Linked DNA regions of Homo sapiens: regions 1, 3, 4, 5, 6 and 7 are each linked to region 2. The links are contacts of gene promoters, found by promoter capture Hi-C in blood cells and fetal thymus (Javierre and others, 2016). All regions are on one chromosome and are shown on one strand. Each heading gives the region's core, a stretch centred on a gene start or on the middle of the fragment in contact. The rest is flanking DNA. Distances are from core to core; before and after follow the strand shown. Region 1 overlaps LOC105374846 (a long non-coding RNA gene). Region 2 holds the start of IMMT (inner membrane mitochondrial protein). Region 3 overlaps RMND5A (required for meiotic nuclear division 5 homolog A). Region 4 overlaps TGOLN2 (trans-golgi network protein 2). Region 5 holds the start of VAMP5 (vesicle associated membrane protein 5). Region 6 holds the start of MAT2A (methionine adenosyltransferase 2A). Region 7 holds the start of TMEM150A (transmembrane protein 150A).

Region 1 (3,353 bases), core at 92-2,591, 610 kb before region 2:
ACGTGTTCCCTCATCTGTCCTCATGGCTGGCGTGCCCCTCTGCGGTGAGACCTGCAGAACAGGAATTGGTGCCGGGTCAGCAGCCGGCGATGAAGCCGGACGAAGCCTGCAAACCCCACCCATACGCCAGCTTCACATAGCTCCTATCCATTGCACAGCAGCGTGGGGAAGCACCGTTCTCTACCCTCCAAGTAAGAAGCTGATTGTTGGGGCACAGGGGAGATCCTATAGCATGGCTCTGCTTATGGGCACGCGCAGAAACATTCCCAAATGAATTTTTTTGTTGTTTGTTTTGTTTTGTTTCTTGTTTGTTTTAAGAGACAGGGTCTTGTTCTATCGCCCAGGCTGGAGTGCAGTGGTGCAATCACGGCTCACTACAGCCTCGACTTCCGGGCTCAAGCGATCCCCCCACCTCAGCCTCCCAAGTAGCTTGGACCATGGACCCGCGCCAGCACGCTGGCTTTTTTTTTTATTTTATTTTATTTTATTTTTTGAGAGAACCTGATTTCCTTCCAACCAATTGTGCTCTCCCAATTCCAACAACCAAATGAAGCTTCAACGCTTCTTTTTGTTCAGAGGCCTCCTGAGTCCTGTCCTACTCACAGTAAAGGCTCTGGCAAAAACAAAAACAAAAACATCATGGGGCAAAATAAACTGCATCTTAAAAAGGCTCATTTCTCTCTAGGTCTCTCTCCAATTTGTTATCTTGAAACGATTTACCCAAAATAGAAACTTTAAAAAAGTAGTGGAAAATTTTCTTTTTGCACAAGATGGTTAATTCTTTTGGGTGCTGGCCTGGGATCCATGAAATAACCTACACTCCACCATAAAGCTTTTCACTCCCATGTTTTGCAAACTGACGACCTTGCTGGGGGCAAGCTCCCCGTGTGACTTTACGAGGGAATTTGAGTGGTGCAAGCCGGAGGATGGGGCCTCACTATGTGGCCCAGGCCGGTCTCCAACTCCTGGGCTCAAGTGATGCTCCCCTCACGGCCTCCCAAAGTGCTGGGATTAGATGCGTGAGCCAACGTGCCCCGCCCAAAGGGCAGTTGACCTCAGCGTCTGAGGTGTGGAGGGAGCAGCTCGTTCCTCTTTTTCCTGCTCTACTGGGAAGGTACAAACCATACTAAGAAATCCTCTTCAGTCTGTCCCCACAAAAAGAGAAAGAGGAGTTGCTGCAGGCCAAGGACAAGGAGGAAGGGAGGAGAGAGCCCTTGACTTCTCCCACTTCTTGACTTTCCTTGCCGTGGTCTTTCCTTCCTTTTTCCAGGTCCACACCTCTCCTTCTATAGTCCTAGAAATGGGTCACCCCCTACAGGAGTCAGAGCCTTCGCCCAGCCCTCATGCTCTGAGGGTAAGTGGGTGGAAACAGACGCCTTCCCTCTCGCAATGTTTCCATCACTGCGTCCTCCACCTTGCACCACTCAGATCCCCTCGGAAAGTCACACGGGGGGCTTGCCACCAACAAGGTCATCACCGTTTGCATAACGTGGGAGTGAAAAGTTTTATGGTCGAGTTGAGGTTATTTCATGGATCCCAGGCCAGCACTCAAAAGAATTAACCAACTTATGCAAAAAGAAAAGTTTCCACTGGCTTTGTAAGGTTTCTATTTTGGGTAAACTGTTTTAAGATAACAAATTGTCACATACACATTTTGTTGTGACAATTGTCACAACAAGAGAAAAAGAAAAAGAAAGAGAGAGAGAGAAAGAAAGAAAAAGAAACGAGCCTTTTTTGGATGCAGTGTATTTTTCCCCTTTATTTACTTATTTATTTATTTTGCCACAGCCTTTACTGTGAGTAGGACAGGACTCAGGAGGGCTCTGAACAAAAAGAAGAGTTGAAGCTTCATTTGGTTGTTGGAATTAGGAGAGCACAATTGGTTGGAAGGAAATCAGGTTCTCTAAGCATCAAAAAAATTCGTATTTTAAGTGATGTGAGTTATGGAAGGCAGAGAGTTCTTGGTATATGGAAGTTACTGAAACAGAGCAGTGGACAAACGGGCAGTCTGCAGAAGAGGAAAGCTGAATAGCCAGCAAACATGGGGCCAGATGCTCGGTCTCAACCTTAACAAGAGAAGTCAGGTTTAAACAACGAGATACCATCACACCCTATGAGATTGGCAGAATTGAAAAGACTGACAAAACCAGAAATAACAAAGCTCGTGGGTAAATGAAAACTCCTCCACAGCTGGTGTGAGTGTGGACTGGAACCATGACTTCGGAGAAAAATGTATCAAAAGCTATGGGACACATCTTTCGAATCAGTCATTTCTCACAAGGTTGCCATACTCCTCAAGTCATTCCTTTTCCAGGAAAACACCCTAGAGAAAATCTTGTACTTGGACTCTAGGGAATGTGTACAAGGATGTCCATTGTAGTTTAGCTTATAACAGCAAAACCCAGCCCAAAAGTACATCAACAAAGGAATGAATAAATGAAAGTGGCAGTTGTCATTAAACCTTTTTCCTTTTCTTGTATCACCCCAAAGTATGAAAGACTATGGACTCCTTCACTCATTAAAAAAAAAAATTTAGGCCAGGTGTGGTGGCTCATGCCTGTAATCCCAACACTTAGGAAGGCTTAGGCAGGTGGATCACTTGAGGTCAGGAGTTCGAGACCAGTCTGGCCAACATGGCAAAACTCTGTCTCTACTACAAATACAAAAATTAGCCAGGCATGGTGGCGTGTGCCTGTAATCCCAGCTACTCAGGAAGCTGAAGTAGGAAAATCATTTAAGCCCAGGAGGTGGAGCTTGCAGCGAGCTGAGATCGCACCACTGCACTCCAGCCTGGGTGACAGAGCGAGACTCTGTCTCAAAAAAAAAAAAAAAAAAAAAAAAAAGATTTAGCAAGGAACAGTGAATGGCTCACCCCTGTAATCTCAGCACTTTGGGAGGCTGAGGCAGGAGGACTGCTTGAGGCCAGGAGTTGGGGGCTCAAGAGTTGGAGGCTGCAGTGAGCTGTTATCACACCAATGCACTCAACCTGGTTGACAGAGCTAGACTCTGTCTCTAAAAAAAATAATAATACTAATTTATTGTGGCAAAATACACATAACAATCTTACCATTTTAACATTTAAGTGTACAGTTCAGTGGTATTAAGTTCATGCACATTGTTGTGCAACCTTCACCACCATCCTTCTCTCTAACTCTTTTCATCTAGAAAAACTAAAACTCTATAACCGTTAAACATAACTCCCACTCCTCCCTCTCCCCAGCCTGTCCCAACCACCATTCTACTTTCTGTCTCTATTATTTTGACTACTTTAAATACCTCAAATACATAGAATCATACAGTATTTGGTTTTTTGTGACTGGCTTAATTCACTTAGCATAATATCCTCAAGATTC
Region 2 (3,054 bases), core at 391-2,890:
GAAAGCGTTCACTGGCATTAAGAAGTTCAAAGACAAGGGTGTTAGAAAAGTCATCACACCGGCACCACTGGGCATGACAGCAGTGGGCAGGGAGGCAGCAATTCAATTGCTAAAATTACTAAAGAAAACGGGAGACTGCTCTGGAAGCTAAGTGAAAGAGATATGAAACATATGTAATTACTGTAGTCCCCTAAAAACCATAGAACATAGAACATATACAAACATAACTATTGCTTTCAGATAATTTTCAAGTCCATCTCTCCATGCTACAAGTCATAGCGCAGTCTACCTCTAGAGAGAATACATATTGTAATAAATTACCCAGTTAAGACTTGGAATACTTTGCAAATCCAATAGAAGATAGAAAAGTTAGTTTCCACGATATTGCAATAAGATGCTAATAGTATTAATACGAACATATTAATTCTGGAGTATACATGGAGTATTAATACCATGCTTAATATTTAACGTGTTTTATTTTGATTACAGAATCAATGGAATACTTTTGTTTTTTGAGACAGAGTTTCGCTCTTGTTGCCCAGGCTGGAGTGCAATGGCGTGATCTCGGCTCACTGCAACCTCCGCCTCCCGGGCTCAAGCAATTCTCCTGCCTCAGCCTCCCGAGTAGCTGGGATTACAGGCACCCGCCACCATGCCCAGCTAATTTTTTGTATTTTTAGTAAAGACGGGGTTTCACTATTTTGGCCAGGCTGGTCTCGAATTCCTGACCTCAGGCGATCCACCCGCCTTGGCCTCCCAAAGTGCTGGGATTACAGGCGTGAGTCATAGCTCCTGGCCCTACTTTTCTTTTTAAATTTTTTGTTTGTTTATTTTTCTATATAGAGACGAGGTCTCACTGTGTTGCCCAGCCTGGTATCGAACCTCTGGGCTCAAGCGATCCTCCCGCTTCGGCCTCCCGAAGTACTGGGATTACAAGCGTGAGCCACCGCGCCCTGCCCAGTGGAATACTTTCAACGGTGCTTCTGCATTGACTTCCCATCTTCCAACCCATCCACAAACTGCAGCCAAAATGATGTTACTACAGTAACAACTTGGAGAAAGCAGTGTGGCTTAATCTGGAAGGAGCAGAAGCTGTGGAGTCCAAAGGACCCGTGTTCCTATCCTTGTTGTGCCACTTGACACGTTTAGCACAAGGGTCCCCACAGTGTTAGTTCACCGTCTCCAGCAATCACTATGACTCCCTGGAGGGCTGTCAAACGAAACAAAGGCGCAAACTGAGACAATTCCATTGTTTACGTAACTTTCGCCAAATCGGCTCCTTCCTACGAAATATCCAGCTCATAGAGCAGGCTGAGATGCTTTGTTGCTTTAATTCTCTTTAAGAGTCACAGCTGTCCATTTTCCACGTGCGGCTGAAGAATGGATTTCAGAGCGCTCTCCCTCCGGCAGTGTTCACCTAGTAACCCCTTCCGGATAAGGACCTGCAGCCCGGGCGCGACCCGGAAAGGGAATCCGCCCTTTTCGCCTCCTTCGCGCCAATCGCCTGGAGTTGGCGTTTCCGCAGCCGGGACACAGCCCACCCTCTAAGAGCCGCGGAGTCGGGGACGGTAGAAGGGGCCGCGCGTGCGCAGTGGCGTCCGCTGTGCTTCCGGTGCGCCGGGCGCGGACGCGGGCACGCACACACGCAAGCACGCCTCCACTTAACTCGCGCCGCCGCGGCAGCTCGAGTCCACCAGCAGCGCCGTCCGCTTGACCGAGATGCTGCGGGCCTGTCAGTTATCGGGTGTGACCGCCGCCGCCCAGGTGAGCACTGGGGCTCCCGGAGGCGCGTGAGGAGGCTGAACTAGAACCGTCAGCGAAAAACGGGGGAGCCTTGGTCGCTGCCTAGCCTCCAGGACAAAGGCGAGCCTCAGGGCCACCCTCGTCGGGAGAGGCCCGGGCGGGCAGCTAGGCAGCCACCAGGGAGTTCGCCGGACTGGGATGACTTGAGGTTATTGCAGCAGCGGGGTGGGGTGTGGAGAGTAGCGGGAGGCGCGGCTTCGTGGGCATGTAGTCCAATCAGGGCCGCGCTGCCCCCGTCCAGGACCAATCCTGGCTGCTGGCGTCTGGGTCGCCGGTTGGGCGCGCGATAGGTTTTCAGTGCTGAAGGTCGACGGGCGAGAACTACAGTTCCCGTCAGGACGAGCGGAGCGGCGGCTTGTTGCATCCTTAATAAGGAGGTGCCTGGACTTCTAGCGAGAGTCCACATTTTAGGGGTCAAGGTTGTAATTATCTGGGAGGGAGTGCCTTTCTTTTCGCAGCTGAGAACACTTCTGAGTTATTCTTAATCCAAACAAAAGCGAAAGATTTTCATTTGTGGAGCTGAAACTCCTGGTCTTCAAGGAAAGACAGGAGTCATGACCTTGTGGCTCATTTCTGAGATTAGGGCAGGGATCTGTGTCTCCAGGCGCTGGGACTACTTTGACATTCAAGGAGCCTAAATACCCAGTTACTTCTAGTTTTGCGTAATTGCCAAAGTTACTTTCTAAAATTGAAAATTAAAAAGCCTGTTTCCACTGCTCATGATTTTCAGGAAGTTGATATTTTGGCAAAATGTAGATAGCAAACCAAGTACTGTGACTCAAGCAGTAATTGAACAGAATCCCTAGGAATAGTGAGTTAGAGATCATAAAAGTCAAGCTTTGTTTTTTCAAGTTCGCTTCTCTTCCTATTTGCTGCTAGGTAACAGAAGCAGCCCCTTCCATAGGAAAGTGGAACGAACCTGTGTTAGTTTTCTATTGCTGCGTAACAAATACCACAAATTTAGCAGCTTAAAACAACACCCATGAATGACCTTACGGGTTCTGTAGGATAGAAGTCTGGGCACGGATGATCTGTGTTCTCCGCTCCAGGTCACATAAGGCTGCAAAGTATTAGCCATGCTGTGGTTCTCATTTGGAGATCAGGGTCCTCTTCCAGGCTCATGCAGTTTGTTGGCAGAATTCAGTCCCTTGCAGTTACAGGACTGAAGTACTTCTTTTCTTGCTGCCTCTTGCCAGCCACTGCTCCCAGCTTCTACAGCCTGCCTACAGTTCCTTGCCTCAAGGCCTCTAG
Region 3 (3,324 bases), core at 337-2,836, 580 kb before region 2:
CACACAAGGGTATGAAACACCCTACAAGGAAAGTGTTTTTTTTTTTTAAGTACTTTCTATCACAGATATATTGACAGATTTCAAAGAAGTTTGGTAGGTAAGTGGACCACTGCATCATTGTCCCGTCATGCAAGGTTGTAAAAACTGGCTCATTAGCAGGTCACAAAATCAAATCAGTCTTGGTGAGCATTAAAAATAAAATCACACATTTGTAGCACTAAATATTGTTTTGTAAAATATTTCAGAATTCTAAATTTTGTGTACACAGGGTTATGCTATTAAGCTTCTTACTGGGTGCTGAAGGAAAAAGAAAAGTTAAGAAAGCCTATTTTCTGCTGGGATATTGTTTATTATCAAGTTTCTCTGCTGGGGGGTAAGAAGCATCAAGCTGTTTTGTTTAAGGATGCATTTTTAGTCCTTATTTTGTCATTATGAAAATTATTTTTCATCTTTGACACTCACCTTCCCCATTTTGGTGGAGGGGGTGGAAAATGCTTTTTACCATACTGCAAATACAGTACTCCCTCAATTACCTAGATGCTTAAAGAAATACACTGATTTTTAAAATAACTAGAGTTCAAAGCACACTAAATTTAAATTTTCTTGATGACTAACAGATTTACCCTTAGTCCTCAAGGGTAAATTCTGTTCAGTACGTGTGATCTTGACCTGCCACATTTAAGAGGGAGGATACTTCCTGAAATAGGAAGCATCCAGGACACTCCTTATAAGGGAAGCCCGTTTTCTCATGACCATGCAGACTTTGGTTCAGCAGGGTTGAGCTGAGGCCTGAGATTCTGCATTTCTCACAGGCTCCCAGGTGATGCTGATGCTGCTGGTCCATGGACCACACTTTGAGTCCTGAGGAGCCCAAATGCTGGAGGGAAAGGTGGTGAGACCTTGGCCTGGCCTGCCAGGCCTCTTCTATACTACCTGGGCCACTAGCTCCAACCTGACTGGATGGGACCACAAGGGTTTCCATAGGTAAGAAACATTCTAAAATCTCAGGTAACACTAAGTCTTTCTCTTAAAAAATATACAAAAGGAGTACAAATAAGTGCTTGGTCTCTACAACCTTGGCCTGCCATGGAGGACAAGGCAATTCAGTTTCTGGTCTTCCCTGGTAATGCTGACAGCACAAGTTCTACCCCCTCCAGCAGCCTGGACATCGAGCTGTTTCCGGGCTCCACTTTACCAATCATACACTCACTGCCACTCTGGTCAGTACACAGGGCAGGGTCCCCGCTGTGCACAGGAGGGGCGAGAGGGGGCAGCAGCCTGGAAACATTAAAACAATCCCCTACTCAGAAACTCGGGACTCAGCCAGGTGCAGTGGCTCACGCCTGTAATCCCAGCACTTTGGGAGGCTGAGGTGGGCAGATCACTTGAGGGTCAGGAGTTCGAGACCAGCCTGGCCAACATGGTGAAACACTGTCTACTAAAAATAAAAAAAAATTAGCTGGGCATGGTGGCACATGCCTGTAATCCCAGCTACCCGGGAGGCTGAGGCACGAGAATCGCTTGGACCCAGGAGGTGGAGGTTGCAGTGAGCCGAGATTGGGCTACTGCACTCCAGCCCAGGCAACAGAGTGAGAGTCTGTCTCAAAACAACAACAAAAAACAACTCGGGACACTGCTCAGTCACCTTCTCTTCTCACTGTTGGTGGCACAGAAACACAGTAAGATGGGGACAGATATTTTCTTAAATTCTTGACATGCAGACCCTTAGCAAATACAGACAGCAATTTTCTCTTCTCACAGTCAGCACCTCCCTACTCCCTCCCTCATACCTTTGTCACCTGGCACATTTATACAGACTGGTTCCACAAAACACTTTTTAAATGTGCATTTCTTTAATTTTTAAAAATATACACAGGAAAAGCCATGTGTTTTACATAGGAATACACACATTAACAAAGCATTTCTTATAGTTTTCCAAAACTCTATTATATCAGTCCGAAATTTATAAATTAAATATATCAGAATTCTTAAAGTTAAAATGAATTCCCTGAAACTACTGGATATGCTACTTTTTCCAAAATCAAATGAACAGAGGATATGGATGTGGTTTGTGTTAAATAAGGTTTATTGTTAGCTTTATTGCCTATAGTCTATAAGATGCAACTTTACTGTGCCTTTGCAAACAGGATACATTTCTTAAAAAATTGATCAAAATTTTCCATACATATAGCTCTATATGATAGATTACAGTGCAACACTATTCTCGTTACATAATTATAGAAATACTATAGAACCCAAGAGCACGGGGTAAGCAAAATAAATACAATCCTGAGCCATCTGAACAAGATGATTTGATGAATCCTTTAGTGTAAGTTTAGAAAACACAGAGAAGGAAAAAAATACATGCATACTGCAGTCATGAGCAAAATACATCAAACACCTGTTCCTTGCTAGGTGCAGGTGGGGGCAATGGTGAACTTCAGACACATGCACACTCACTCACACTCCCATTTTCTTCTGCTTCCCTCCCAGCCCCAACACATTCATTCCCGCCCCTTCCCAAAAAAAAGATCAGGCACTAAATCCTAGTGAACCCCACAACTGCCTTGCTGGAGAAGGTTAAGTGACTGCTAAAGTAAGAGTGTATGTAGGTCCTCACCCATAACATGAAACAAAGCATGTGCTGTAAGCCAATTCCAGCTGCTTTTGCCTCTTTGGAAGTAAATGAAGCATATGCCCACTACAGCTTGAAACTGCAGTGGAAATGTCTTGAAAACAAAATTTTGTTTCTCTTGCTATGTCTTGAAGTAAAATCAACAGTGGAAAATTCATCCTAAAACTGCCTCATCTGCTATTAAAATACATTTGTCATTCTATTTTTGGTATCTATTCAATTATAGTTCATTAAGAACGGTTCATGAAGCTTGTACCTGCTTATGGTAAACATCAGTGTACCACACAAAACCTGCCACACCTAGACAGGCTTATGAAACACCAAATCTTCTATGTGTTCCTTGCTAACATTCCCTCAAGACCACAGCATTCTAGTGTTACCAGAGATAAAGTACGTATAGTTAAGTGATGAAAGAAAGGTATTTGGTTTGTGTCGTCACCTTATACATCCTAGTGATGAAACTAACCAAACTATGCCTCCATGCCTTCCCTGAAAATAACCTGAGTCGGCTGACGAAACAGACTGAGCAGCGTGGCTCTCAGTCCACTTTATCAGAGGTTGAGCTGGAAAACCAGAGGGCTAATGTAGTCTACCAGCAGCTTGTGCGGATAACCAAGAGTTCTTGGCTGTTGCAGTATCCACTGTCCCAAAGGCTAAGCCACTGAGGTGGAAATCAATCGCAGCATAAA
Region 4 (3,095 bases), core at 227-2,726, 870 kb after region 2:
GCTTGAGACAAAGTGAATCAACTTCCACTTAGTTGTACCGAGCATAAAACAGAACTTGGGCTTCCTGGCAGTGAGGCCACTGTCCCATCACAGATTTTTAAAATAAATATGATTTGAAGTAGTGTGATCTTTCACACAATCATACTCAGTAGGAACTTTTTGAAATAGGGCAAGTTTATGTTTCATGCGAGAAAACATGAAGGAGGGTTTTGGTTTTGGTCTGCAGTTTTTCCAAAGGGCTTTTATGAGATACATTTCCCACAAAGTCCATTTTGCCTTTGTTGCCTAAAACAGACAAAATAGACTTAGATTTATTAATAGAAACTATACTCTCTGCCAATTTTACCTCAGTGTATTTAATGGTCCTTTAATCTGATATAAGATGCCAAGGGTATTTGATAAAAATTCTTCTTCCATGCCATGTCAGGAGTTAATACAAATGAAGAAATTCCGTGGGTTCCCCTGGGATAAGTGAGGGTAGTGTCTTGGACAACACTATTGTTTGAAGGTTTATCTTTTCTAATCATGCTCTACCGCATTGTAGAGAGCCTAAAGAGAGTTGTTTCTGAGCTGATCTCAGGGAAATACAAATAACTTGGGAGATGAGGGAAATAAGATGAATTCTGTGCTGTCAAGGCAGTAAGTCTGAAGAAAGGACCATGCTTCTTATATTATCTTCCACCTTGCTTAAAACAGCCCATAGCTTTGAGTTGACATTTTCATTCTTGGCGGATAGCCTACTTTATGAAGGTAAGGAATGAACTCCTACCCTTCTTGGGTCATTCTCTGTACTGATGCGTTAGTCTTATAATACTTTGCACCAACCTGAGGAATCTTCTAGGCTTCTCTAGCATCCCCTAAGACTGTGGCTATTTCACGTCTCTCTCCCTGCCTGCCTTCCTTTTCCCTTCCTTTCCCCTCCTCATGTTTTCTGGTTGTGCCCATCTGTACCAGCTCCTTTCCATCCACCTTCGTATGCACCCAGATTTTTCTGTTCCCATCTGTCCTATTTGTTATTCATCCCGCTGCTCAACTTCTCCAGTATGTTGCTTCCCTTAAGTTGCCATTCATTCTCTTCATGACTTTTACTAACTCACTTCGGTCTCTGTCTGTCAACTAAACTTTTCTAAAGGTTACCAGTTATCCAATCACCAAATCCATGGCTTTTTCTCAAAGCTTAGTCTTGTCCTTGGCAGAACTGGACACTATTGACCATCCAAATGGAAATTCCCCTTTCTTGGTGTCTCTGACAAATGGTCCTTTGCCTTATCTTGTGCTGGTGGTGAAGAGGCCCTCAAAGCCAGGCCTCTCTATTCCTTTGACTGTCTCCTCAGCCATTAACCCATTCTTCATCCTCGGAGTGAGTGATTCCCAAGTCTTTGTCTTGGCTTAATCCCTAAAGAACCCAGTTCTGCTGGTATCGAATAGTTCAGCTTGGTTGTCATTGAAAGGAATTTCTCTCTTCTGTCCATCAGCCTGTCCCTCCCAACTGTCTAGGACAGTCTTCGGTCACCTAAATTCCTAACTGCAGACTTTTGCCCTTTTTCTCTCTCATCACCAAAGTCCCATCCATTTTTTTTTAATAAAAGATCCTCAGCTACAGTCTTTCCATTTTCCTTGCTTCTCTTATTGCACACCCCCAGCCCATTTTGCTTCTCTCTTGGATTTTGTTTTTTCAGATCCACATTTATTGGGTTTCCTGTCCAGCTTCTTGGAAAGGAGCTCACTCTTGGAAAGACTGATCTTTCCAAAATATTTTCCCTGGTCTGAAGCTTTGGTGTGAACTTCTCAAGGCTTAGAGAATCCAGTTACAGACCTTTTGGGGTTCAGGATGCTATAGATTGACACCCTCCTGCCTGTTTTTCTCTGCATCCCAACCTGGCCAAGGCCCCTCCTGTGGGGTGCCCATCTGTGCCTTTATTCCGGCTGTGCCCTCGACTTTCCAGCTTCCCATGTTTCTTTGGTTAGGTTTCTCTCCCTTCCTTCTTTCTCCTTCCCCAATCCGCCTGTTTCGTCAGGGCCCAGTTTGTTTCCTCATACACCTTCCTCACTACCCCACCCCACATGGTTGACTCTTTCCCTCAGCTCCACCAGCTCTTCATCATGCCACTCATTTCAGAACTTGAGCAAAACAGGGCAGTCAGGATCTGATGTCTTTCTGGTCTCCCTAAGAAAACTAAGCTCTTGAGGGACAGCCCTTGGCAATGCTTTCCTATCTGCTGATCATGGTGACCTTCCTTAGGACTTCCAGAGTTCAGTTCCTTCTGGCAGAGAGGTTTTCTTTCTCCATGCCATATGGATGTGACTCAAATGAGGGGTCCCACAGCTTTTCCTGGCTACCACTTGCTGTGACCTTATACATGTTGGGGTTTGCTCTTAAAGAGGAGAGCAGGAAGAAAGGTTGGTTTCAGAAACCAAGAGGGTCGGCAGTGGACGCGTACATTTTGTCACGGAGTCCACAGAGCTGAGCTTTTGAGCAGACTCTGAGAAGTATCATTGCTTGTGTTGAAAGAATACAACAGGATTTAAGTTTCTCTTTAGAAATTGCACTGAAGAAAGGCCGGGCGCGGTGGCTCCCCCTGTAATCCCAGCGCTTTGGGAGGCCGAGGCGGGGGGATCACGAGGTCAAGAGATCGAGACCATCCTGGCCAACATGGTGAAACCCCGTCTCTAATAAAAATACAAAAATTAGCCGGGCATGGTGACGTGCACCTGTAGTCCCAGCTACTAGATAGGCTGAGGCAGGAGAATTGCTTGAATCCGGGAGGCGGAGGTTGCAGTGAGCCGAGATCGTGCCACTGAACTCCAACCTGCCAATAGAGCGAGACTCCGTCTCAAAAAAAAAAAAAAAAAAGAAAGAAATAGCATTGAAGAAAATACCGCACATCAGAGGAAAGCTTATTTTCTGCATGGTGTCTTTTCAAAGATAGAATATTTGAAGCATGTTTTCTAGCGATTGTGTGGATGAGGGTGAGCTGGCTGAGGCATCGCTCAAGCTGGGGGGTGGTGTGTAAGAAGCACGTGGAGCCACAAGAGGCACCTCCTATAGTCAGCTAAGGGCTTCCCTTTCTGCGCCCAGCTTTTGGGTGAAGGGT
Region 5 (3,167 bases), core at 147-2,646, 610 kb after region 2:
TGGAAGGAAGGAAAGCGCTAAAGGGGCAAGAGTGAAAGAAGAAACAGGAAGAGGCTAGGAGATGGATGGGTGGAGGAGCGACCTCCCCAGCCTCTCCTCCACAGACTGCCTCAAATGTACCCGTGAGAATCCCCAGGTTTCCCAGTATCCTCCTCCCCCAATAAAATATCCTGCCTTCAGCCTTCACTTCAGGAGCTTCTCCCAAAGAGCTAAGGGCCGGCTGAAGCCCACCCCTACCCCTGCCTGACCCCTTGCCCTGCACACCCTTAAGTGGGCTCTGGGCTCTGCCCTATTCTCAGAGCCTTCCTCAGCTTCCTGGCCTGGCCTCAGAGCTCAGTGCTACCTTCCTGCCCCACTTCCTCTTCCTGCCTCCAAGTTCCCTGGAGATAAGGCCATCCAGGCATTGACCCCTAGCCAGGCCACATCCATCACACCTCTGTCAGTTTCTCCAAGGCAAAATCTTAAAGCACCAAGCCTACTTCCTGCCCAGTCCATTTTCCCAGGAGCCCTAGGGAAAGGGAGAAACTGGCACCAGCTGTTCCTGACATCTTTGCCTTGGAGATGGCAAGTGAGGACAAAGGCCAGGATCTGCAGCAGGAGTGGGGATGACTCAACTCAGGAATGTGTCACTAGGTAGAGGTTAGCAGGGAGTCAGGCCTGTGCCATACACTGATAACTTCAGTGGAACTTTCAGAGTAAACATCTCCCTTTCTCTTTCTCTAGGGGAGGAGTTCGCCCTCCAACACCCTGCCATGGGGCTGGAATGGCCTCTGCCACCCCATCTGCTCAAGTTTCCAACTCCTGAGCCAGGCTTGGCTCCTCACAGCTGCGGAAAGGGCTGACGAGGTCGTTACATTTCCTACCACTTCTTAGCAGTGGGTTCTGAGTGCCAGGCGGGTCTCTGCCACTGTGGCTCCTTTAACCTCGCAAGGACCCAACAAGGCAGGTATTACTGACCCCACTTCACAGACGCGGAAAAGGAGGCTCAGGGAGGTTAAGTGACTTGTCCCGGGTCACAGAGCTGGGATCCCAGCCCGGAGTCCGACTCCAAAGTCGGTGCTCTTAACCGCTTTGCTTCAGGAGAATGGGGAGCCCGAGTCCCGCTCGCTCTGCGCGGTGCAGCCAGGACGGGGCTCACGCATTTCTCTCCCATGCGGCGCGCAGGGAGTGGAGGGTCCGCCCCGTCCTGCTCCAGCAGTGGTCACCGCCTCAGGTCTGGCCCTCGTGGGCCCCAGGGGAGGCCCCAGCCCGCGGACTTTGGACTCCTCTCTCCCACCCTCGCCACTCGCCCTCTGCCCGTCGCAGGGCTGGCCGGCCCCGCCTGGGCCCTCACCATCGCTGCTGCCGCCGCCGCCTCGCCCGCTCCCGGCTTCTCTGCCTGCGGAGCGGCCGCAGTGCCAGCGGCCCCGGAGGAAGAGCAGGGGCGGGGCGGGGCGGGCCGCCGAGCGAGGGCGGGGGGCGCGCCTTCCGCGAGTGGCGACAGAAACCAAGTCAAATCGAAAGCGATGGGCCACAGCGACCTGGGTCCGTAGAGTCGGACCCTCCCGGGCCCCAGGAGCCTGAATTCGGATGACACCTCTGCCTGGTGAACGGGCACACCTCGGGGCCGGATCTGTGGAATGGGCACAGTGGAGTGAGCCCTGGAGTCTTCTAGCTCGAGTTCAGCTGAAAAGGCATCATTCATTCACTCAACAAACACCCTATGAGTGCCACGGTCAGGCACCATACTAGGTCCTGGAGACGCCATGAACAAGCCAGGCAGGGTCTTTATCACCCTGGTGAGTGCATCTCACCCAGAACCAAAAACAGGCACCCAAAAAGTTTTGAAACTAAAGACAAGTGGTGGTTGCACAACATTCTGAATACATGTCACTGATCTGTACACTTTAAAATAACAAACTGTACATTGTGTGACTTTCACCTCTATTCAAAAAGAAAGCAGCCCCACATGGGCAAAGTACTAGCTCTAGCCTTTCTGTATGTCTTTCCTCACCATGAGGGCAAGTGCAGCTCTGTGCTGTCATGCACCCGCCATGCACTTGCTCCTCAGTCAGAGGATGGGGGAGGCTGGTGTATCTACTACCACTTCAGAGCCTTCCTGAGCCGAATCTACCCATCCTGTCCTCTCACTGCTACAGAGAAACCACCAGCTACCTGTTCTCCACTACTCCAAGCTGCCTCGGACATCTTAAAATAAGGTCCCTCGTTTTTTTTTTTTTGTTTGTTTGTTTTTTTTTTTTGAGAGAGACAGGGTCTCACTATGTTGACCAGGCTGGTCTCGAACTCCTGGCCTCAAGCAGTTCTTCTGCCTCAGGTTTCCAAAGTGTTGGGATTACAGGTGTGAGCCACTGGGCCTGGTCCCTCAAGTGAGGCCTCTCTTGACCAACAGAATTGAAAGTTTCCCTCTCTGGGGCTGAGCCTCTGTGAATACAGAAGTCCCAGACCAAGAGGGTTTCACAGACACTCACCCCCACCTTGGACAGCCTGGGTCCCAAGGCAGAAGCTTCACTTCAGTTCCTTACACCTTGAATCCAGGAGAGAGAGGATTAACATGTTGTAGCAAAGACTACCCCAAGCCTGGGCACAGTGGCTCACACTTGTAATCCCAGCACTTTGGGAGGCCAAGGTGGTAGGATTGCTTGAGCCCAGGAGTTTGAGACCAGCCTGGGCAACACAGTGAGACCATGTCTCTACAAAAAATACAAAAATTAGCCAGGTGTGGTAGCACACACCTGTGGTCCCAGCTACAGGGGAGGCTGAAGCAGGAAGATCTCTTAAGCCCAGGAGATGGAGGTTGCAGTGAGCCATGATCACACCACTGCACTCCAGTCTGGGCAACAAAGTGGGATCCTATCTCTGAAAAAATAAAAATAAAAATATCACAAGGGTCTTTTCTGACCTTTCCTCCTCCCTCCCCAAATTTCAGAGCATGATTCTTCCAGAGCCTGACTTGCCAATCTGGTCCCAAACCCTGACTCTCAACCCTTCCCCTTCTTCCTGACAACAGGTTGTTTCCAATTCTGGAAAGCCTGTGGAGGAAACAGGAACAGAGATAGCAAGAACCCTCCCTGCAAACCAAGGCGGACTGGGCACTGGAAAAAGTGACAGTGATGGTGGAACCTGGTAGGGAGGAGGGGGGCCTGAAGACAGAAAGGCTTATTGTGCAC
Region 6 (3,442 bases), core at 691-3,190, 660 kb after region 2:
TCACTGATTTGGTCACAAATCTTATCTGGAAAAGAGAAATTCCTGGCTCAGTTTCTTTAACTTTAAACAAAGTATGTATGTATGTATGCAAGCTCCCTCCCTGTTACTATCTGTAAAATCTTTGGAGATTTTAAAAAACATGCTTAATACATCTTAATTCATTGTGTTTGCACTTTCCTCCTAAAATTCAAAGTTTGCATTATAAATCTAATCACCAGAAAGGTGAACTGTTAGTCCTATATCCTTTAAAGAACAGAATTTGCCCTATATCATATTCACTTCCACAACTGTACCAAACCCCTCTGCACCTGGGAGTCTGGTAGAACTGAGGCCACAGGTAGGCCAGTTTCCCTAATCTTAAGGAACACCAATTATAATGAGCAACAAGATAATTCGATTAAACAATTAAATGAAAAGCATTTTCTGACTAAAATGGCAATTATCTGATTTTGCTGTTAGGAGTTGCGCAGGAAACAAAAGCTCAACAGTGTAGAAGATGCTCAAACGTATTCCGAATCCATGTCTCCCTGCTTTGTCATCTATTGTTAGGAGGGAGAACAAATATCTCCCTAATTCAAGTTCGTTTTTCTGAATTTTCTATAACCGCCTAAAACAGAATCCAAACATAATGTGGAAGCCAGACTGCAGGCTCTGAACTTCGGTCTACTACTAACTGGTGTAACAGCTAACCTTCAGCACTCATCAAGATCCTGGGTTTGTCCTCTCATACCACTAAGTTACTTGTGGGATTTCATCATGGGCACAGTAAACTGACCAGACCCTAAAGCCACCAGATAGATAACTACTGCGGTCATCCTAAGGGCAGAAACAGCCAAAAGAGCCAAATAATCATCTTTACTAGCCGATATGCTCAGGCTGAGATTTTCAGTTCCTGGAAATATAGCTTTACTCCTCCTTCACGTGCCAATTGATCCCCATAATGGCGGTTGAGCGGACAAAGCCTCAAGTAAAACCCTGCACCGAAGACTTTAAATGCGAACCCAAAGCAATGGCAGCTCCTAATTCATGCTTCCCATCCTTTTCACAAGGGGTCCAAATAAGGACTGCCTTCTTGGACATGAGCTATATTTAGTCAGAGGCCGTCACCTTGGAGGCAAGGCCATATCCGCCGAAGGGCATGTGCGTATTCTCCAGTGTGTAGTCAAGACCTAACCACTGAGGCAGTGGAGCCAGACGACGTCCCAAGGCATAGGCCCCCCACCCCTCAAACTGAGGGCCAGGACAGCCGGGGAGGCTCACGGCTCCCCCTCGCCCAGATACCACATGCGGCAAACACGTGGTCGCCGCTGCAATGCGGGGCGCGCGCTCCCGAGGGCCGGACGCGAGCACGCGGGGCGGGTCGCCCACTCCAGGTTTGTCAGACGGCAGGGCCGGGAGGGGTTAACAGTGCCCTCCCTTCCCGGCCAGAACTCACTAGCGACCACAGCCCCCGCCCTTCACGTTTTCTGGAACCTTCCGCATGCCTAGGCGCGCGACCGAATGAAAAGGGAGGGGGGAAGGGAAGGGTGGAGAGGGGAGGGGGAAGAGGAGCGGCGGCCACGCGCCAGGCCCTGGCGGCGCCACGAGGAAAGCGCGCGGTCGCCGCTCTTCCATCACCCGGCGGACGAGGACGACCCGCGCGGGCCCCACCACCGGCCGGCCGCAGCCAGCCGGACCTTGGCGCTGCCTTCTGCCCCGCCCCACGCTTCGCTTCAGGCCGTCCCCTCACCTGGGTGGCCTTCCCCGACCGACTCTGAGGTGAAAAGGAATGTGCCCTCCTCGATGAACGCCTCGTGGAAGCCGTTGAGCTGTCCGTTCATGTTGGTGTCGGTGTGCGGAAGTGGCCTTACGAAGGAGCAGCGGCGAGGCGGCAGCGGCTGCGAAATGCGCAAGCTGCGGACAGCGTTCTACTCGTAGCAGGCGGGCGGCGCGGAGCGAACGAAGCAGCGGGCGGTGCGGCCCGGTATTTATAGAGCAGCGCCCGCGCGCGCCCGGCTCGGGCCCCGCCCCTCGGCGCCGCGCGCCAATGCACCACTTGCGCGGGGGTCGGGGGAGGAAGGGCAGCTCGCCCCGCGGAGTCCGGGCTGAACCACACTGCGCGGCCGCGGGAGGTGCCGTGGCAATCCGGCCCTCCAGAGACCGTTCAGCTATCTTGAGCCGCTAGAGCTAGGAGAAAAATGCAGACGCGAGGAGACGTGGGGGATTGCTCTTCCTTGTTTGATGTGGGAGAAAAAGCGACTGGGGCTTGCTGGACCCGCTCCCCTGTGCGGTGACATGGCACCTCCCTTCCGACCGTTGGCCGGGATAGCTTTCCCGGAGGTCGCGTCCCCCAGCGGAGGCGGCGGGAATCGCGGAGGTTTTGTGCTGCGGCTGGGGTCTTTCTGGCCGTCCCGCCTCTAGATGCCGGGTGGCAGGGAGCCGGTGGCGGTCGGCCATGTGAAGGTGGCCATCTTGGCCGGCCAGCGAGGGCTCCTCACGGCCTTCCTTCGGCGTCCCTGCCCGGCTCGTTGCCGGCCCCGGGATATCTGAGGGGCGCAGGCCCACCTTCTAGTCGTTTCCTGGTGAATGGCTCTGCTGAAGATGGCCGGAAAGCAGATTAATGAAGGTGCTGCCATCGATTTAAACAATCGCCCTCCTGCCCGCTCCCCTGCGCTAAAGTTTCTGAGGGATCCTCACCCTTCGTGGTTCGTGGACTTAAAAGTGGAGGCAGCGCTCCAGCCTTTCCCTCCAGAGAGAAAGGAGGCCGCTCCCAAGTCCGTCCTTGCCCCGTGGCCTTCCTGTTCCTTTGAAGGGGGGGGGAATCGATGTTTCAATCCTCTGTTCAGGAGAATATGGAACGAACATTTCTTTTTTGGTGGGTGGGGGCTATTCGTTCCCTTGAATGTGCTTAAGCAGATCTCTTGACGGCGTGGAATGGGCTGTTTCATGAAGCTTTCACTTTAAAATGTCCACCTGCGTTTGTCCCAGTTTTGCCCAATAAAGGAATTACAGGGAAAAAGAGCGAAACAAAACTTGAGCCAGCAAGGAGTATGGAGTCCCGTTTGGAGGGAGCCCGCCTTGGGGGCGGGGGTCTCTGCAGCCTGTTCTGGGGCTGGGCCTCGGTGCAGGTCTGGTCGGGCTGGTGGCCTGGTGGCCCTGAGCGGAGCGCGTGACAAGAACGCCGGGTTTAATGAGGTTCTCAGGGAACGGCCTGCTCCTAGCATGGGATGTACTTTACGCTGGGGAGGTGAAGGAGACCCCTAGTAACAGTCTCCAGCTGCCTACTGCTGGCGGCAGTAGAACAAGGTGCATTCCCAAGAACAATCCTCTCCGTCGGTGCAGGAGGAAAGGTGGGATTTGCTAAAGGCTCAGTGGGAAACAAAGGAAGCACTTGGGCTGTGCTGGGGGCATCCACAAAGAAGATAAAGGGCTCCTCCCCAGACTCAGTGACCACATCCACGGT
Region 7 (3,452 bases), core at 104-2,603, 590 kb after region 2:
CCACGCTGGGCAACCTGCGCCTGTGCACCATTCAGGTGATGATCTGTCATCTCACAAGGGCTCCAACAGATGCTGGGACCGCCTTTGAGACAGAATGCCAGGCACACTTCTGATATGTGAAAGTATTTCCACCCTTGCAATAATTTAAGAAACATCCGGGCCAGGCGCAGTGGCCCACGCCTGTAATCCCAGCACTTTGGGAGGCCGAGGCGGGCGGATCACGAGGTCAGGAGATCGAGACCATCCTGGCTAACATGGTGAAACCCCGTCTCTACTAAAAATACAAAAAAATTAGCCGGGTGAGGTGGCGGGCGCCTGTAGTTCCCAGCTACTCGGGAGGCTGAGGCAGGAGAATGGCGTGAACCCGTGAGGCGGAGCTTACAGTGAGCCGAGATCGCGCCACTGCACTCCAGCCTGGGCGACAGAGCGAGACTCCGTCTCAAAAAAAAAAAAAAGAAAAAGAAAAAGTAAAAAAAAAAGAAACATCCAGGAATGCACTCATAGCCTGTAAGTTTTTGGTGAAGCTGGTCAGTAATTTTTCCCACACTATCCTGTTTCCTTTTCCCAGATTCCTCCGGGTCTCTCACCTTCCCCTCTTTGCTTACCAACACTGGCCATGTTAATCCTTACCTACTCTACACTGACACCTACATGTGTCTATTTAGAATGGATGTCCTCTGGTCTCTGCCGTCTTATTTCAAATAAGTGTTGATCAGTCGGGAAACACGTCTTGGACACTGATTTCTGGCTAGTACATTGTGTACTTGTATGCAGGAAAGCAAAAAGTATCTAATGAAAGCAGCCCTCCTCCGGAGTTTGCTGAGCCACAGGAACCATAAGCCAAATCCCAGGCGCTTGGATTTCTTAAGAAACAGCCAAGTCTTTGTGTCTGCTTCTCTGGACCCACCGCAGCCCTGGCCAGAGGCAGGCATGGGGCGCCACGTTGAGAGAGCTTCCTAGAGGACTCACCGTTGGCCGGTGCAGGCTGCAAAATGTGCGCAGTGGCGGAGAGACGCTCCTCCAGCCATGTGCACGGCGACAATCCCAGGTAGAGCTGGAATGCAGGCTGCCCCGAGATCCCCACCTGCTGACGCTTCCCCGGCAGGAATCGGTTAAACGGAACCTCTAGTCATCTCGGTTTTAGAGCGGTCTTCACGCCACAGCCCTCCGCGCCCAGGTCCTCCGAAGTTGGGACACCGCCCACGTTTCCCCCGTGACGCGGGCGCGGGGGCTCGGGAGTTGTAGTCTCGGGCAGGGCGCGGGCACCGAGGCCGGGGCTGCGCGGACTCCACGTCCCGGCGGGCGGCGCGGCGAGGCCTGGGGCCTCCAGGGGCGGGGCCGCTCGGCCCTTTAAACCTTTCAGGGCTGCTCCGAGGGCCGCAGCTAGAGTCGGCGCCACGAGGGGGCCGAGCAGGGTGCGGCGGCGGCGGGGCGCTCCGGGGAGGTGCGTACTGGGCTCCTTCCCTTCCTCCGGGCTTCCAGGAATCACCTGGGGACTCTCGCGTCCCGGGTCCTGGGGGGTCGCCGGCCGCAGGGTCCGGCCCCAGCCGGGGTCCCCGCGCCCAGGCGAGCGGGGGCCGGGCCGGGCTGGGCTTTCCGCGTGAACCCGCCCCTCGCCCAGGGCGCCGATGGTCAGGTGGTTGCCTGCGCGCCGCCGACTCGCCACCGCTCCACTGGGCCGGCACCCAGCCTCTCCTTGGCGTGGCCTCTTCGGTTGTCCAGCCCTTCTCCCAGCCCTGGTCCCTCAGAAGGAGGGTAACTCCCTTCCAGATGTTACGGTCCGCCTGCGTCTCTCAGCACGCCGGTGGCATTTGGGTTGACCGCGGAGGCCCCCAGTGCCAGAGGGTGTTCACGTTCTGCCGTGGGCTCAGCCCAAACTTTGGACGCTCAGAGACCCAACGGGAGCGCTGGATAAGGTGTTGACCCCCTTCCCCTCCCCCTTCCCGGCCAGTTACCCACTCCTGGACTTTGATCTCTCTCCACCAGGCCAGGACAGCTGATGGTTGTGGCAGAAACATCTCAAGGTAGCTGGTCCGCCCCCACTTCCCCATCTACCTCTTGTCCTCCCCCCAACACCACCACCACCCTGGCTCCCCTCCCTCATGACCGCCTGGATCCTCCTGCCTGTCAGCCTGTCAGCGTTCTCCATCACTGGCATATGGACTGTGTGAGTAAAGGGGGGTGCCCGGGGGGCAACAGGAGCTTGATGACGCACACAAAGTCTCTTGTCCTGTCATAGCCACGGTGGTACCCAGGGTCACTCTGGGTGTCTCAAAAGCCTGACTTGGTGCCTGGGCACACAGCCCCTTGGGACAAGCTGGCACCACTGCTGTCCAGCAGGGTGGCCCTGACAAATATACTTCTAGCCAGGGCAATTTCCAGAGGGCCTGTAGCTGGGGGCATGCTGCAGGTGCTGGTGTGGCATCAAGCCTTAGGGACCTCAACTTGAGTCCCCAGCAACAATAATGAGGCTGAATGGGGCCAGAAATCAAGGTTGAAGAGAAGGGTCATGGGGTGGGTTGAGTGGGGCTCGGGAAGGCTGCCAGGGTGACAGTTCTGTTCCCACAGGTATGCCATGGCTGTGATGAACCACCATGTATGCCCTGTGGAGAACTGGTATGAAGGACTCTGCAGACAACCTTGCTCTAAAGCTTCCTTCATCTCTGTCCCCTCTTGGGCCTGAGGCTGCCACGAGCCAGACTGCAACCCTGAGCCTCACTGCTCTTCTCTGAAATTGGTCCCCAGGCATGGCTTCTTGCCACCTACCCACTTCCCACTATCCCTTTGCCCCTTTGGTTACTGCTTCAGGCGGGCACTGGGGAGTGGGATCTTCTGTCCCTGTAGGGGAGGTCTGGGAGAGAGTCCTCTTTGAGGCCTGAGGCTATAGGCCAAGGGCCTGGGGGCAGTCCCTTCCCCCAGTCTACTCCCTGTCCTGCCTGCCAGGTCCTACAACGAGTCCTGCCCTCCTGACCCTGCTGAGCAAGGGGGTCCCAAGACCTGCTGCACCCTGGACGATGTCCCCCTCATCAGGTAAGGCCTGGACATTGGGCCGGTCAGGGAGATCTAAGGGCCTCCCAGACAGCCCCTCAAGCAAAGAGCTGTCCTTGGGTCTCAGGAACAATAAGTATCCTAAGAGCCACTTAATAACAACACTACTTGACAGTTACTGTGGGGCAGGCACTCTGCTGAGTGCTTTATATGCATTGTCTCTTTTCATCCTCCCAGGAGTGAGGCAGGTATTGTTTTCACCATTTTATAGGTGAGGAAACAGGCTCAGTCTTCCTCATCCAGGTCACACAGCTAATAAGCGGAGGCACCTGGATTTAAGCTGGAGCCCTCAGATTGCCCAGCCCGTGTTCTGGCTCAAGGATAGCCAAACCAGCCGCAGGGCTCAGCAAAGAGTGTCAGGGTTGCCCGAACACTCCTGGGCACTCCCTTCTCTCTCACACACA

The links. Contacts are between HindIII fragments. The CHiCAGO score rates a contact against its expected background, and 5 or more counts as called.
Region 1: a contact is called between a fragment that was not itself captured here and the fragment with the promoter of IMMT in region 2, in 1 of 17 cell types (fetal thymus). The highest score is 5.1, in fetal thymus.
Region 3: a contact is called between a fragment that was not itself captured here and the fragment with the promoter of IMMT in region 2, in 1 of 17 cell types (naive CD8 T cells). The highest score is 5.0, in naive CD8 T cells.
Region 4: a contact is called between a fragment that was not itself captured here and the fragment with the promoter of IMMT in region 2, in 1 of 17 cell types (monocytes). The highest score is 5.4, in monocytes.
Region 5: the fragment with the promoter of VAMP5 here is called in contact with the fragment with the promoter of IMMT in region 2 in 8 of 17 cell types (fetal thymus, monocytes, neutrophils and 5 more); the score reaches 10.4 in fetal thymus.
Region 6: the fragment with the promoter of MAT2A here is called in contact with the fragment with the promoter of IMMT in region 2 in 1 of 17 cell types (erythroblasts); the score reaches 5.2 in erythroblasts.
Region 7: a contact is called between the fragment with the promoter of TMEM150A here and the fragment with the promoter of IMMT in region 2, in 1 of 17 cell types (erythroblasts). The highest score is 6.6, in erythroblasts.

What each region holds. Positions count from the first base shown.
Region 1 is chr2:86,804,285-86,807,637 of GRCh38, reverse strand. It overlaps LOC105374846 (a long non-coding RNA gene), which reads right to left. Exons shown (of 3, transcript XR_940321.3): 2 at 1-51. It also overlaps a transcript of CD8A not described here. Among named protein-coding and RNA genes, the nearest start is that of CD8A, 15 kb to the right of the region's middle. The HindIII fragment of the contact is 1,014 bases long and covers 835-1,848 here.
Region 2 is chr2:86,194,048-86,197,101 of GRCh38, reverse strand. It overlaps IMMT (inner membrane mitochondrial protein), which reads left to right and starts at 1,640. Exons shown (of 15, transcript NM_006839.3): 1 at 1,640-1,764. The coding sequence starts at 1,720. RefSeq lists enhancers at 1,650-1,769, 1,790-1,969, 2,090-2,139. The HindIII fragment of the contact is 5,542 bases long and covers 1-2,642 here.
Region 3 is chr2:86,776,549-86,779,872 of GRCh38, reverse strand. It overlaps RMND5A (required for meiotic nuclear division 5 homolog A), which reads right to left. Exons shown (of 9, transcript NM_022780.4): 9 at 1,832-3,324. Among named protein-coding and RNA genes, the nearest start is that of CD8A, 13 kb to the left of the region's middle. The HindIII fragment of the contact is 2,601 bases long and covers 286-2,886 here.
Region 4 is chr2:85,318,938-85,322,032 of GRCh38, reverse strand. It overlaps TGOLN2 (trans-golgi network protein 2), which reads left to right. Exons shown (of 4, transcript NM_006464.4): 4 at 1-3,095. Among named protein-coding and RNA genes, the nearest start is that of TGOLN2, 7.5 kb to the left of the region's middle. The HindIII fragment of the contact is 596 bases long and covers 1,179-1,774 here.
Region 5 is chr2:85,582,660-85,585,826 of GRCh38, reverse strand. It overlaps VAMP5 (vesicle associated membrane protein 5), which reads right to left and starts at 1,396. Exons shown (of 3, transcript NM_006634.3): 1 at 1,334-1,396. The coding sequence starts at 1,336. RefSeq lists a silencer at 1,125-1,474 and an enhancer at 764-1,719. The HindIII fragment of the contact is 4,352 bases long and covers 1-2,505 here.
Region 6 is chr2:85,537,666-85,541,107 of GRCh38, reverse strand. It overlaps MAT2A (methionine adenosyltransferase 2A), which reads right to left and starts at 1,940. Exons shown (of 9, transcript NM_005911.6): 1 at 1,730-1,940; 2 at 1-25. The coding sequence starts at 1,820. It overlaps PARTICL (promoter of MAT2A antisense radiation-induced circulating long non-coding RNA), which reads left to right and starts at 2,222. Exons shown (of 1, transcript NR_038942.1): 1 at 2,222-3,442. RefSeq lists silencers at 1,353-1,682, 1,863-2,132 and enhancers at 2,163-2,252, 2,323-2,532, 2,933-3,022. The HindIII fragment of the contact is 3,815 bases long and covers 1-2,933 here.
Region 7 is chr2:85,600,599-85,604,050 of GRCh38, reverse strand. TMEM150A (transmembrane protein 150A) reads left to right here and starts at 1,353. Exons shown (of 8, transcript NM_001031738.3): 1 at 1,353-1,444; 2 at 1,987-2,167; 3 at 2,569-2,616; 4 at 2,944-3,030. The coding sequence starts at 2,103. It also overlaps a transcript of USP39 not described here. RefSeq lists silencers at 1,144-1,723, 1,824-1,883. The HindIII fragment of the contact is 3,378 bases long and covers 1-2,653 here.